2 separate regions of the Homo sapiens genome follow, and region 2 is linked to region 1. The links are contacts of gene promoters, found by promoter capture Hi-C in human tissues and cell types (Jung and others, 2019). All regions are on one chromosome and are shown on one strand. The core of a region is centred on a gene start or on the middle of the fragment in contact, and the rest is flanking DNA. Distances in the headings are between cores, read along the strand shown.

Evidence for each region. The method cuts DNA at HindIII sites, captures the fragments that hold promoters and counts their contacts. A contact is called where the count stands out against the background at its distance.
Region 2: a fragment that was not itself captured here is called in contact with the fragment with the promoter of CES1 in region 1 in 2 of the 25 tissues and cell types used here (H1 embryonic stem cells and dorsolateral prefrontal cortex).

What each region holds. Positions count from the first base shown.
Region 1 is chr16:55,831,343-55,837,744 of GRCh38, forward strand. CES1 (carboxylesterase 1) reads right to left here and starts at 1,754. Exons shown (of 14, transcript NM_001025195.2): 1 at 1,662-1,754. The coding sequence starts at 1,713. The HindIII fragment of the contact is 6,998 bases long and covers 1-2,600 here.
Region 2 is chr16:55,440,585-55,446,986 of GRCh38, forward strand. It overlaps MMP2-AS1 (MMP2 antisense RNA 1), which reads right to left. Exons shown (of 7, transcript NR_147198.1): 3 at 6,280-6,364; 4 at 3,529-3,637. Among named protein-coding and RNA genes, the nearest start is that of MMP2-AS1, 19 kb to the right of the region's middle. The HindIII fragment of the contact is 3,141 bases long and covers 1,869-5,009 here.

The sequences.
Region 1 (6,402 bases), core at 504-3,003:
TCATGCTCAGCTCAGGGATTCCCTTCAACAGGATGAGGTGGATGGCAGCCAGATTGCCAAGGGTGAAAAAGTGGGTGAATGGGGGGAGGCAGAAACAAGTGTGAGAACAAGACCAGTTGCTGCTGATGTTATATGAAGCACGAACATGGTGGGCACCTACTATGTGCCAGGCATGCATTCCAGTTTTTTAAATTAATCTTCAAATAAGCCTTGCTGGGTAGGCATCAACATGCCCATTTTACAGAGGAGGAAACTGAGGAAGTGGAGGCAGCCTGTATGGTCTTCCTAAGGAAGGAAATGGATGGCATTGCCAGGAGTAACCAGAGGTAAAGGAACATTCAGTTCCAAATAGGCTTCCTCTCTTCTCTGCCCTTCCCCACAGTTCCAGAGCTCTCGCAGTGTCAGGCTGCCAGAAGGAAGACAGGATGCAGACGGGGCTGGGCTGTCAGGATTCAGGACCCAGAGACAGACCTAGGCGTGATTTTCGGGTTGACCCTGGGCAAGTACATTTCCCTGTGTGAGTCTCAGTTTCTCTGTCTATAAAATGGCATGGGGGTATTTCGAGGCCCCTCGCTGCACCCCTCTATGTACCATGTGTTTTGCTTTCTGTATTCTGATGCTCTGGCATCTGAGGCCTTGTTGACCTTGGAGAAACTCCCTCCCAGGGTCCAGCCACCCCAGAGCCCACACCCCAACTGCCTCTTTGATCGGGTTGCCATGCCCTGGCCACTACCCACCTGCCCTAATCATGCCAGGGCTAGGTACAAAACAATTAGGAACAGCCCCTGTGCCCCAGAGCCCCTGAAGTATCCCAACTTGCCAGTCCTCAGCCTGCCTGCCCTGCCTTTCCTCTTCTATCCTTGGAAGCCACAGTAAAAGCCCCTTGGCCTCAGATCCGCCCTGTCCCCTCCCCAGGCTCTGCTGCTTCCCCTTGTGCCCCGCGCACTGGTGTCCCCCTCCTGTTGAGAACATGAGTAAGAAACTGTCTTTTTAATGGCAAGAGGTCCTGATATAGTGGCCTGACCACAGCTCAAATTTTCTATTCATACACTACGTTTTTAAACAGCGCCTTTATTTATCCATCCCTTTTTCGTGCTTTCTACATACCAGGCGCTGCCAAGAGTGCTTTAGAAACAGCCACCCATTTCCTCCTCACCAAAGCCCAGTGAGGTAGGCAGCACTGCCACCTCTGTTTCAGAGAGGGGGTAACCCAAGCACGGAATAGCGCAGTCCCTTGCCTAAGGACACACAGCGAGGAAGCGCCCAGCGGGGACTCGAACCCACGCACTCTGGCTCCAGAGTCGATGCTCTTAATATTATGTTGAGCCGCTCTCCGTGATCCAGCCGTAAGGGGACTAATTAAGGGACAGCAAACTGAGCTGCCTAAATTTCTCGTGTGTGCGGCCTGAGGTGGGCCGGCTGTCGGCCTGCATTTGGGCGAGCAGTACAGGGCGATCTCAGGATGTTCACCCTCCCTGCGTCTCCGCGCGGGCCAGGCTGGCCGGGCTCAGCTGCTCCAAGTCCAAGTCCTAATATGGAAGTCGTGCCCCGCCGCAGAGCCGGACCTGTTGTGTCTTTGCCTTTCTACGCATCTGCGCCCACCTCGGCCCAGAACAAGGATTTCAAAAAGTGCCCCGCATTTTGATTTCAGAAGGACTCACCCCAAGCCGCGGAAGCAGAGAGAGTGGCCAGGATAAAGGCACGGAGCCACATCGTGGAAGGGCGACAGTTCTCGGGGCCTGCGAGGTCTCTGTGCAGTTCAGAGGGACTGTGCTGTCCAGCCCTGGAGCCCAGCCCCGCCCAGAGTTACCGCCCTGCGCTGCCAATTGCCTAATCCTCTAATTGGGAGAGATCAGAAAAGCCCTCCCTTTCCTCAGATCTCCCTGGGCTTCTAGTGGGGCCTCAGGCCACGCCCACCCACAGTTTACCCTCTTTCATCAAACCAGTCTGGACTCTACTGTCAGATTACAGAGAGCTGTAAACTTGCCCAACTACTTGTTACATAAGGGTTCACCCTTGCAGGACTCTAACCTCAGTGCACTGTGACGGCCCCCAAGGGCCCACACCAGCAGGCAGATGCTTTTAGGCAAAGGGAAGCTTTGATCTGAGGTCCTCAGAAACAACTGGAAAATGTTAGAGCCACTCACACCTCACAGCTCAGCTGGGTAAGTTAGGACATATCTCAGCTCCCAGGGCTTGTGTTTTCATAGCTTTCCAGGCTCTCAAGCTTGGAAGCGATCTTAAATTTCATCGAGTCCCCTTTCTGAGGCCTGAATTAGCTTCACAATATCCTGCCAACTGGTCCAGCCTCCTGTCACACACCATCGGTGTCAGAGAACTCACTACTTTCCAAAGCAGGGATTTTTGGACAGAATGTAAAAATGAACTCCGTCCCCCCATAGTCCCTGGCTGTTATCATCCATCCATCCAAGTACCCATCCATTTTGTGAACATTTACCAAAATGCTTGGCACCTGGCCATGTATAATGGATACAAAGACCAATTCAAGACATGGTTCAGCTTCTCAAGGGGCTCACCATTGTAGACAAGACAGATGGGGTGGAGGAGCAGTAGGGGTGATGTCAAGGCAATGTGAAATCACCAAATTAAGGGGATACAGAGTGCTCTGGGCACACCTGGAAAACTGTCATTTACAAGCTGCTGGGGACACAAGGAAGTCACTCAAAGCCTCTTTCATGGGATTATTAAATGTCCAACAATAGGGAATTCACTAAACACACTGTGGTACCGCTGGCTAAGGAAATACGATGTATTCACTCAAAATAGTGATGTGCACAGCTATTTATTAACAATGAAGACAGGATGCGTTGTGAAAGGAGAAAATAATAGGTTATAAACTGTTGTGCGGTGTAGGCAGTTCCTCAAAAAGTTCAACACAGAGTTTCCATATGACCCAGCAATTCCCCTCCTAGGTGTCTACCGAAGAGAACTGAAAGCATGTCCACACAAAAGCTTGTACACAAAGAGCAGTGTCATTCATCCTAGTCAAAAAGTGGGCACAACCCGCATGTCCATGACCTGATGAATGTGTAAATGAAGTGTGGTGTATGCGTGCAGAGGCATATCATCCAGCCATAAGAAGAACATGCTACAACGTGGATGAAGCTGGAAAACATCATGGTAAAGGAAAGAAGCCAGCCACAAAAGGCCACATGTCGTATGATGCTTTTTATATGTAATTTCCAAAATAGTCAAATCCATGGAGACAGAAAGTGTTTGACAGGGTCTGGGGAAGGGGAAAGAGACGGGGATGAGGAGTGACTGCTAATGGGCATGAGTTTTATCTTGGGGGTGGTAAAAATGTCCTGGGATTAAATAGTGATGATGTTAGTGCAACTTTGGGAATATACTAAACACCACTAGATTGTACACTTTAAAAAGGTAAACTTTATGACATGTGACTTATATTTCAATAAAATAATGAAATATTTTTGAAAATCTAGATAGGTATAATATGGTCCCGTTTTGGTAGTAACATATGTCTTTATTTGCATAGGAAAATACTGGAAGTCTATATATCTAATTAGAATTACAACAGCCATTTCCTGGCTGTAATCTTGTCAGTGTTTCACTTATTTGCATTTTCCACTTTTATTCCTTCATACATTCATTGACAAATATTTACTGAGAGCTTACTGTGTGGCAAACACTATGCCGAGAGTTTTGTATGCAGGATCTCAGTTCTCAAAATAACCCCGTGAGATTAATGCTGTCTCACGATCTTAAATTGATTTCTGTTGTTTAAGCCACCCAGTCTGTGATATTTTCTTCTGGCAGCCTAAGTAGACTAATACATAGGCTCAACTCAATTCCGTTATTTATTCCCAAAAGAAACTAAGGCCCAGAGATGAGGAGGGATTGCCTAAGGTCACACAGCAACTCAATGGCAAAGTCAGAACCAGAACTTGAGGCTTCTGCCTTCCAGCACAGGGTGGCTGGCAGCCATTTCTCTTGCTTTTATACATCAGGAAGATATTCTAATCAGTAGCCTTATCTAAGGCAAATTGCCTTGTCAGCTCATTGACCCAGGCTTAGCATGGTAGGGCTGAAGGGATAGAAATAGCCAGGGGAGGCTGGGCACTGTGGCAACCCTTCCCGCTCGGTAATCCTAGCACTTTGGCAAGCCAAGGTGGGAAGATTGCTTGAGAGAGGAGTTCAAGACCAACCTGGGAAACATAGTAAGACCCTATCTCTACAAGAATAAGGAGAAAGGAAGAAGAAGAAAAAGAGGAAGGAGAAGAAGGAGAAGGAGGGAAGAAAGAAGAAGAGGAAGAAGAAGAAGAAAGACAGAGAGAGACAAAGAAAGAAAGAGAGAGGAAGGAAGGAAGGAAGGAAGGAAGGAAGGAAGGAAGGAAGGGACAAAGATGGGAGCCATGTACCAGGTACCTGGGGAGCTATGTTCTATTTTCCCAATGTCACTTGGCAAGCCTGCCCTTGTCCAGGCCACACCACTATTGACATCAGGAAAGATTGGGCAACCAGCAGCCATAAATCACATGACAGTCCCAGAGCTGCTGATGGATTCTTGCCCAAGGCCATGAGTTGTAGCTGAAATGAAACTTCTGGAGACCCAAATTCAAAAAGGCATGCTCATTAGCACTCATTCTAGCCACGTGCAGGCTGGTGAGGGGCATTCTGTGATGGGAATGAGGATGCTCTGACAGCATGAGAATCAGTCCCCAGAGCTAACTGACTCTACAAAGGTTGACCTGAGCTTTAGGGTTCCTCCCTTACTTTTATCCAGGACAGAAATCTGGCTGATAAACTGCATGCTAATAAAAAGCATCCCTATCTCTATCCACAAGGGACAAATTGGGAGGTCCTCCTAAATAGAAAGCAAGGCTAGTCCCACTCACTCAGCACAACACACACACACACACACACACATGTGCACGCATGCGCGTGCCTGTTAACCATCCTGCCCTGTTGCCCTAGTCAGCTGACCTTTGCAACCTGGGAAACAGCCCTGGCTCTTGGCCTATGAAGATTTTGTGGTGCTGTGTTCACAAAATATAAAAGATAAGGATTAGTTCTTCTCCTGAACCACTGCTCAATCACATGCCCGCTTGTGACACCAGCCAATTGTGCAAACAGAATTTTTTGGCCACTCCTAGGTTTTGCCTGGGTCTGGCTGCAGCCTCTGACACCTTTTTCTGCTTCATGATGACTCTGCAGATTGTGATGGGTGAGGCTGGAGCCTACCAAGCCTTACAATAGATCTAATTTTTGCTTAATACATATAACTCCCCTGCAACACTTCAGCTGTAAGCAATACGTCTCTTGTTTAAGTGGCAGTTGGTTGGTGGGGGGCGGGGGGGATATTATTGTTTTCCCTGGGGAACACCCTCTGGTTTCCCATGTGGAACTATATGATGTGGAAAGTAAAATCCGAGGAACTGGCCTTAACTTCTAAGCAGGGGGTAGGACTTGGGAGAGTGAGCATATCTGGGGGCTTCAAATGAACTCCCCCAAACCTCTCCACCTCCATCAGTTTACTCAGCAGATATATGGAAAGCTCGTATTAGAGCAGGCATTGGGCACAGCAAGCCCATGTCCTGCTGGGCCCCTCACTCAGCTTTGTCTCTGAACCATGGGATTGATCAGGTGCAGATTTTGTGGTGGAGAACACTGAACTGGGAGACAGAAGTCTGAGAATCCACTGGGTGACATTTGGGAATTCCTTGTGGAAAGGCAGGGGGTGGCTCTGGGGGAGGGGCTCTCTCATGCACCCTTCACCGTGGCTCCACACTCTATGAATCCAGGATTCTACGACATTCTCCACTGCAGCCTGGGCATATGCAGTGTTTCTGGAACCTCACTTATTCTCACACTAATATCATGGTTTTTTGCCTCATCAGCATATCGTCTGTACTTCTATGAACAGTTTTCTTTAAATGAAGCACTCTTTTTACTTTAACATGCTCACTCAAAAAGGAGACTTTATACCATTTCCATAACTGCAAGACCTGTATAACCTGCCATAAATTAGAGGTATGCATGGAAAATGTGTGACTGCATTTTTTAAATTAAAACGATGGTAAAAATAAAAACTTACATAAAGAAAAGCCAGTAAAAACACTTCTGGTTTACAGAAGTGTATAACTGAAAAAAGTCACTCAATGGGAAAAGTGAACCATTGAAGGCCAGTTAGTTACATGAAAGCAGGGCCAGCCTTGATCGCCGTCATGACCACCAGGTAGGTGACAAGGCAAGGGTACCTACCTTTGGCAAGGATCATCGTCACCAAGGTCATTTTCTTCTGCTTCAGGGAACGTCTTCCTGTTAACATTCGGTTCAATGGGCAGAAATTGTATTATGTTTACACCTTCCCAGGACCACGATGCTGTGTTATACTTAGGGGTCAGACTCCCTGGGGTCAAT
Region 2 (6,402 bases), core at 2,189-4,688, 390 kb before region 1:
AAATAGCTTCCCAATCTCCCCTTCATTGTGCCAGGCACCCTGGCTCCTCCCCACCTCTTTCCTCATCTAGCAACAAATACCTGGCACAGTCAGGGGTCTCCAGGACCCTGTTCTAGTGTTTAACTCAGTGTTCTTTCTGATTGGCAAGTATCTGTGGCTTATTGATAGTTAAATAAATTGACAACCACTCCTGTTAGGAATACCCACCTCAAAGGTTGTTGTAAGGGGTAGGTGAAATGATGTGAAAGAACTGTGATATAGGGTTTGGCCCAGAGATCTCTCTCTCACACACACACACACACAGAATGAATGAATGAATGAATGAATCCCTGTGCTACTTATAAGGAAGAGCCTTGCCTTTTTTTGCACATGGCAAACCATTCTCTCTCTCTCTCTCTCTCTCTTTAATAAACCTTAAAGATCATTCTACTTCTAGTTTAATTTCTTCCTCTTTACATGGAGGAAAACTGAGATTAGGCATAATTTACTGACTTATCTAAACAAGTCCACTTTTATGCATTGTAGGTTTGAGGGATCGTTGGAAAGATCTTTTGCTCAAAAACATTCCTTTCATCCAACTGCCACAAAGCCTGAAATTTCACCATTAGCATTTTAGCCATCTTTAAAAATTGCACTAACACTTATCAAGATATTTCTCAAAGCCCACTCTCTTTAAGCTAGAAATGACCCAGGGTCATCCTGAGAACCTCAAGCGCTGGGCTGGAGGGTGGTAAAAAAGAGATTCTGAAAGAAGTTGAAAGGAGACCTGGGACGTGCCAAAGACACATGCGTCCAACTTTAAAACTGTGTGACTGGCTGGCTATGCATTAGATTGTCCCACTGGGGCAGTTGTGCATTTGTGCTGTTGCATAATACAGAAGGACAAAAAGCATAAATACTAACTGATCACTTCATTCAAAAGAACTTCCCAAAAGGAAGCCAGACCCCTTTGATGCTGCCTTATGCTTAGGCAAAGCTAAAAGTCGTTTTTATACTGTTGGTCAAGGGTTTTTCAACTGGATGCCTGGAAATGTTTTTCACAGATCTACAAAGCATGGATCATACAACAAAGCCTCAAAATATACAGGGGCAAAAATCTAGCTGGGATTGTATCCATTCATATATACAAGTTGGTTCCACCACTGGGTTAATGCTAACTGCTGGAGTCCAGCATCTCTTGTATTAGATATATCTTTATCCGCTGACAGTTGAATTCGATCCACCTGCACATTATTTTGAGGACAGGTGTTGAGAGCTAACCAGTTGCTGGTATAGGCTAGTCTGTTTCCCCCAGAACACAATATTGTCCTGTGCTGTGTAATGGTGTTTCGGTCAATGACAGGCTGCATATATGACAGTGGTCCCATAAGATTATAACGGAGATGAAAAATTCATATCACCTAGTGACACGGTAGCCATTGTAATACTGTAGTGCAATTACTTTATTTTTTATAAATTTAGCATGGCCTAAGTCTACAGTGTTTATAAAGTCTCTAGTGGTATACAGTAATGTCCTGGGCCTTCACCTTCACTCACCACTCACTCACTGACTCACACAGAACAAATTCCAGTGCTGCAAGCTCCATTCACAGTAAGTGCCCTATACAGGTGTACCATTCTCTACTTTTTATACCATAATTTTACTGGACCTTTTCTATATTTACATATGTAAATGCTTACCACGGTGTTACAATTACCTACAGTATTCAGTGTGATACATGCTATACCGGTTTGTAGCCTAGGAGCAAAAGGCTATTCCATATAGCTTATACCATCTAGGTGTGTGTAAGTACACTGTATGAGGTTGGCACAATGATGAAATAGCCTCTCAGAACACATCCCCATCCGTCACCAACACATGACTGTAAAATTCAACATCCAATCATTTGACTGATTTAGTTTAGAAGATCAGAATCTAAAGAAATTTTTTTTAAACTTCTGGAAAAACAGGGGTTAAAATTCTGGCACTTTTCTTCAAACATCAATATTTGTGACTTATTAATTACCAATGGATGATCACCAAACGAGGAAGGATCTTCCCATCAGAGTCTAATTAGTTTCATTGTCTTTTTTTTTTTCTGGATTCCATTGTATTTCACTCTACCCTTCGGCTGCCTGTTTTAATTAATGTTGCACTACATTCAAAGGTTTTGCTTTTGTGCCTCTCTGTTTGATTTAAATTCCTTTTTGCAAATAAATAAATAAATAAATAACTATCAAAGCTAATGAGGCTCTGAAGATTTGAGATGTAAATATCATATGCAGATTCTTTTTTGGTCCCAGCTCAGCGGAAGACCAAAAATAACACTTGAAAGTTTGATTAAGAAATCTCAGGCTCCCCATCTCATGCCTCCCTCCAGACAATCTTTCTGCTGGCATTTTCAGTTATTTGACAAAAAAAAAAAATCAAGCCCCCCAAACCCAAAACCTCAAGAGCAAGCTCCTTTCAAGACTGGCTCAGATGGGCATGGTATTGTGCTGAGCTGCTATTTAAGATCCAGCCCGGACTGACTGATTCCTGTCTGTCCTGAGAGATCTGTGCATGTCAATGCATCCACTCACCACACACACACACACACACACACCTTCATATGCATCCACAGACACACAAAATTATTTTCACACACAAACTCATCCATATTCATACACGCATACCCTCATGCCCACTCACCAATGAAAACTCGAAACACACATATTTCCACACATGCAAACTCATCCATGTTCATACACACATACCTTCATATACACTCACCAACACAAACTCACAACACACATTTTCACACATGCAAACTCATCCATATTCATACACACATACCCTCATACACACTCACCAATAAAAACTTGCAACACAGACATTTTCACACATGCAAACTCACCCATATTCATACACACATACCCTCATACACAGTCACCAACACAAACTCACAACACACACATTTTCACACTCATACGTGCGCGAACTCACACACTGATATACACATACTCACCCACATGTAAGTAGACTCATACACATTCCTGCATGCATTCACACACAGTTTCCATATGCACACACATTCTCCCACACACCTGACACATACATCATGCTTTCGCAGATCAAGTTTCCAGTTTCACATCTGTGTCACCTCCAGTACATTTTCGTACACACCCTCAAAAGACATCTCTGCAAGAAATTCCAAGACTCCCCACCCCCTTCCTGGCCCACCATCGTCCTTTTGGGTGTATTCAGGGGCAGCCTGGGGCACAGTTATTAAACTGTATCCCAAAGAGCTCTTCCACTATGCAATCTGCTTTTGCCTGAGATCTCTGTATCCTTTACTGAGAAAGTCTGATTCATTTCCCAGAAATTTTTATCTGCTATTAATCTTTCAGGATATAGTTAGTGTTGTGATATATTCAGATATTGTTTTTGGGTGGCAGGGGGAGGGGAGGGCAGATTTCAAGTGGCCGTCCCCTGGCAGTTTCAGAGATTACTCAGTGCTTATAAGCAGCTCAGAACTGTGTGACAGCATTTCCAAGCAAGGGACTTACAATCATGTTTCATTAATTCGACGTGAATGAAGCCTCATTTCTGGCCTTGAGGAGCTTAAGATGTATGTGAAATTAATAACAGAACAGATGTCTTCACAATTTGGTTCCTCTGGAAAAAAAAAAAAAAAAGGAACCTGATTACTTTGAAAATTTCAATGCTTTAAAATGCAGACCCAGGGAGTTTTTACTCCAGGGTAAAGAGTTATGCCTTGATATCGTCCACGTCTCATAACTAAGTGGAATTTAAATGTCAGGTTTATATTAAATAGTCATATTCCCCATCATGACATATAATAAACAACAGCTTATTACTTTCATTAATAAGATGTGTTGGACATTTAAACTAAAGCTTTGGAGATAAAGCCTGTACCTCCTGAGCAGGAGGTGCTGGGGAGACACAGGGGACACGTCGGGGAATATTCAGGCAGCCTGGTTTTTAGCTTTCTGATAATTTAATCATTGATTCCTCATAGGAAAACAAAATGCATCTGTGCTCACACAGAACTCACCACTTTATAAAGAAGTTGAGCCGTCTCCCACGGATGTGTGTGCCGGAGGCCGAATGTTGTGTTTCACAGGACACTTGAAGTCCTGCCTCTTTATTATTTCTTCCTGCCTGAAATCTTGTTTCTTTATCTAGGCTTCTGTGACACTAAGTGCCCCTCAAGCTGAATTTTAACTACTCCTCAGGGCGCAAGTGTGACTGCACACCAGGGGGGCTGGGTTTTTATTTCTGAAAGTCCAAAGGGGAACAGTGTAATGGAAAAATTACCCAAAGGGAAGTTATTCTGGAGGAGCAGGAAGAGAGAGCAAAGGCCCCCAGGCACATGGCCAGGAGTTCCCCTTGCCCTGGGTAGACAAGTGAATGAAGCTTTCAGGGGAAAGCAGTGCTAAATGGGGAAGCCCAGGGTTCACGTTAGGTCTCAGAATCTGGTCTACTGTAATGACCATAACAACCACTGTAATGACCCTTCTCTCTTTCCAGGGCCACTACGTGTCCTTGAAACTGTCAACTTCCCCACTTTCCCCCATGGAGAAAACAAGAGCATTAGACCAAATGACCTGCCAGCTTCTCACTTTGACATTCTCCATATCCTCTAAATTTGGCTTCCATGACATTTATTTTACTATGTCTACCTACTCCTCTCCACCTCCTTCCTCTCACAACTGGACTGGGTGTGGGGTGCCATGGTACAGTCACCTCTGCTGATTGCCCCAGATACAAAGGTCAAAAGAAGCTCGCAGGGCAGGAGGTCTTCTCTGGTCCCAGCTCTCCCTAGGGATGTGGCCTGGGGTAAGATGCATGCTGTGGGTGCCAGGCGTGGTGGCTCAAGATGCATGGTGTGGGCACCGGGCGTGGTGGCTCGTGACTATAGTCCCAGCACTTTGAGAGGCCAAGGTGGGAAGATTGCATGGAGTTTGAGACCAGCCTGGGCAACATAGTGAGACTCTGTCTCCACAAACAAAAAGAAGGCAGGCATAGTGGCACATAGCTGTAGTCCCAGCTACCTGGGAGGCTGAGCTGGGAGAATCGCTTGATCCCAAGAGGTCGAGGTTGCAGTGAGCTGTGATTGTGCCACTGCACTCTAGTCTAGGTGACAAAGCAAGAGCCTATTTCAAAAAAAGAAAAAAAAAAGATACACGGTGTGTTTGACCCTCGGATTTTTTATGTGAAAAGGGGTGGAATGACCCTCACCCAGGACTGTCATGAGAATGATATGAGCTGGTGCACATGCGTTTGGTACAGAGCATAGAAGCATAAAAGCTCCTGTTAGTGTTCACAGCTAGGGATCTCAAGCAATGTGCAGGAGAGAGGTATCCCGGGGTGACTGCACTTTTAGAAACTCCCTGGGCACTGGTGTTGAAGGAGCATTGTCTAAGTCTTCCTTATTCTTGACTGATATGGGGGCTGTGTGTGCACAGCAGTAGAGACCCGGGTCAGGATGCGGAAGGCGGGCCCCATCCAAGGGAGTGGGGGCAGCTCAGTGTCAGGCACTTATCACCCTGGGTGTGTATCCCAGTGGCGCTACGTAGCAATGCCAGGCCTTCTCCCTCTTCAGGGAAACCAGGAATGTGGAATTTTATGTGAAAGCTTCTAAGTTTTGAGTAGAGATCACTACAAGTCTGCACGCCATTCCTTGAAACCACTGGGGTCAGTGGTATTTCAGTATTTAAATTTTCAGATTTAAAAATATTATACAATGAGATCACCATTTATAACGTGACATCTCCAAGGGGGGTCTGGGAAAACATGTCACAGCCAAGCCCATTAATAATTTGGCATCAAAATAATTATACTCATGAAGAGTGGTGAGACATGGGACTCAACACTTTCTCTCCTTGTGGGGACCAGGCCAAGCCCCCACCACACTGGCAGAGTCAAGGCGACTGTGGCTGAGGCCTTGTGACCCAGTTTCCTGCAGCCAGCCCCACTCACTCCCAGGAGAATCATAGAAGCCATAAAGCTTTGGGATTCCTGAACTGAAAAGGCCATGACAACCACTGTGTAAACCCCATAAACACTGCATAAGGTCACCACACAGCTCCAAGTGACAGAATCCCAAGCCAAATAGGCTTAAATGAAGAACAGCAATAGCAATCAAGTTTATTAGGTTATAGGAGAGAAAAGTACAGAGGTGTCTGTTCAGGATCACCTGGATCCAGGTGCTCCAACAATGGCCCCTGGAGTCAGTTTTTATCTCTCTGCTCCACGTTTGGCTGTGTTGCTTCCTTACTCACACAGATACTTACCTCATGGTAGCAAAAAGGCTGCCAGAAGCTCCAGCTCCACATATTTCTGGGATTGGTCCCCTGGGAAACAGCATCTGTTCTGTCCCTAGAACAAAAGCCATGGGTTATCGCTAGGGCTCTGAA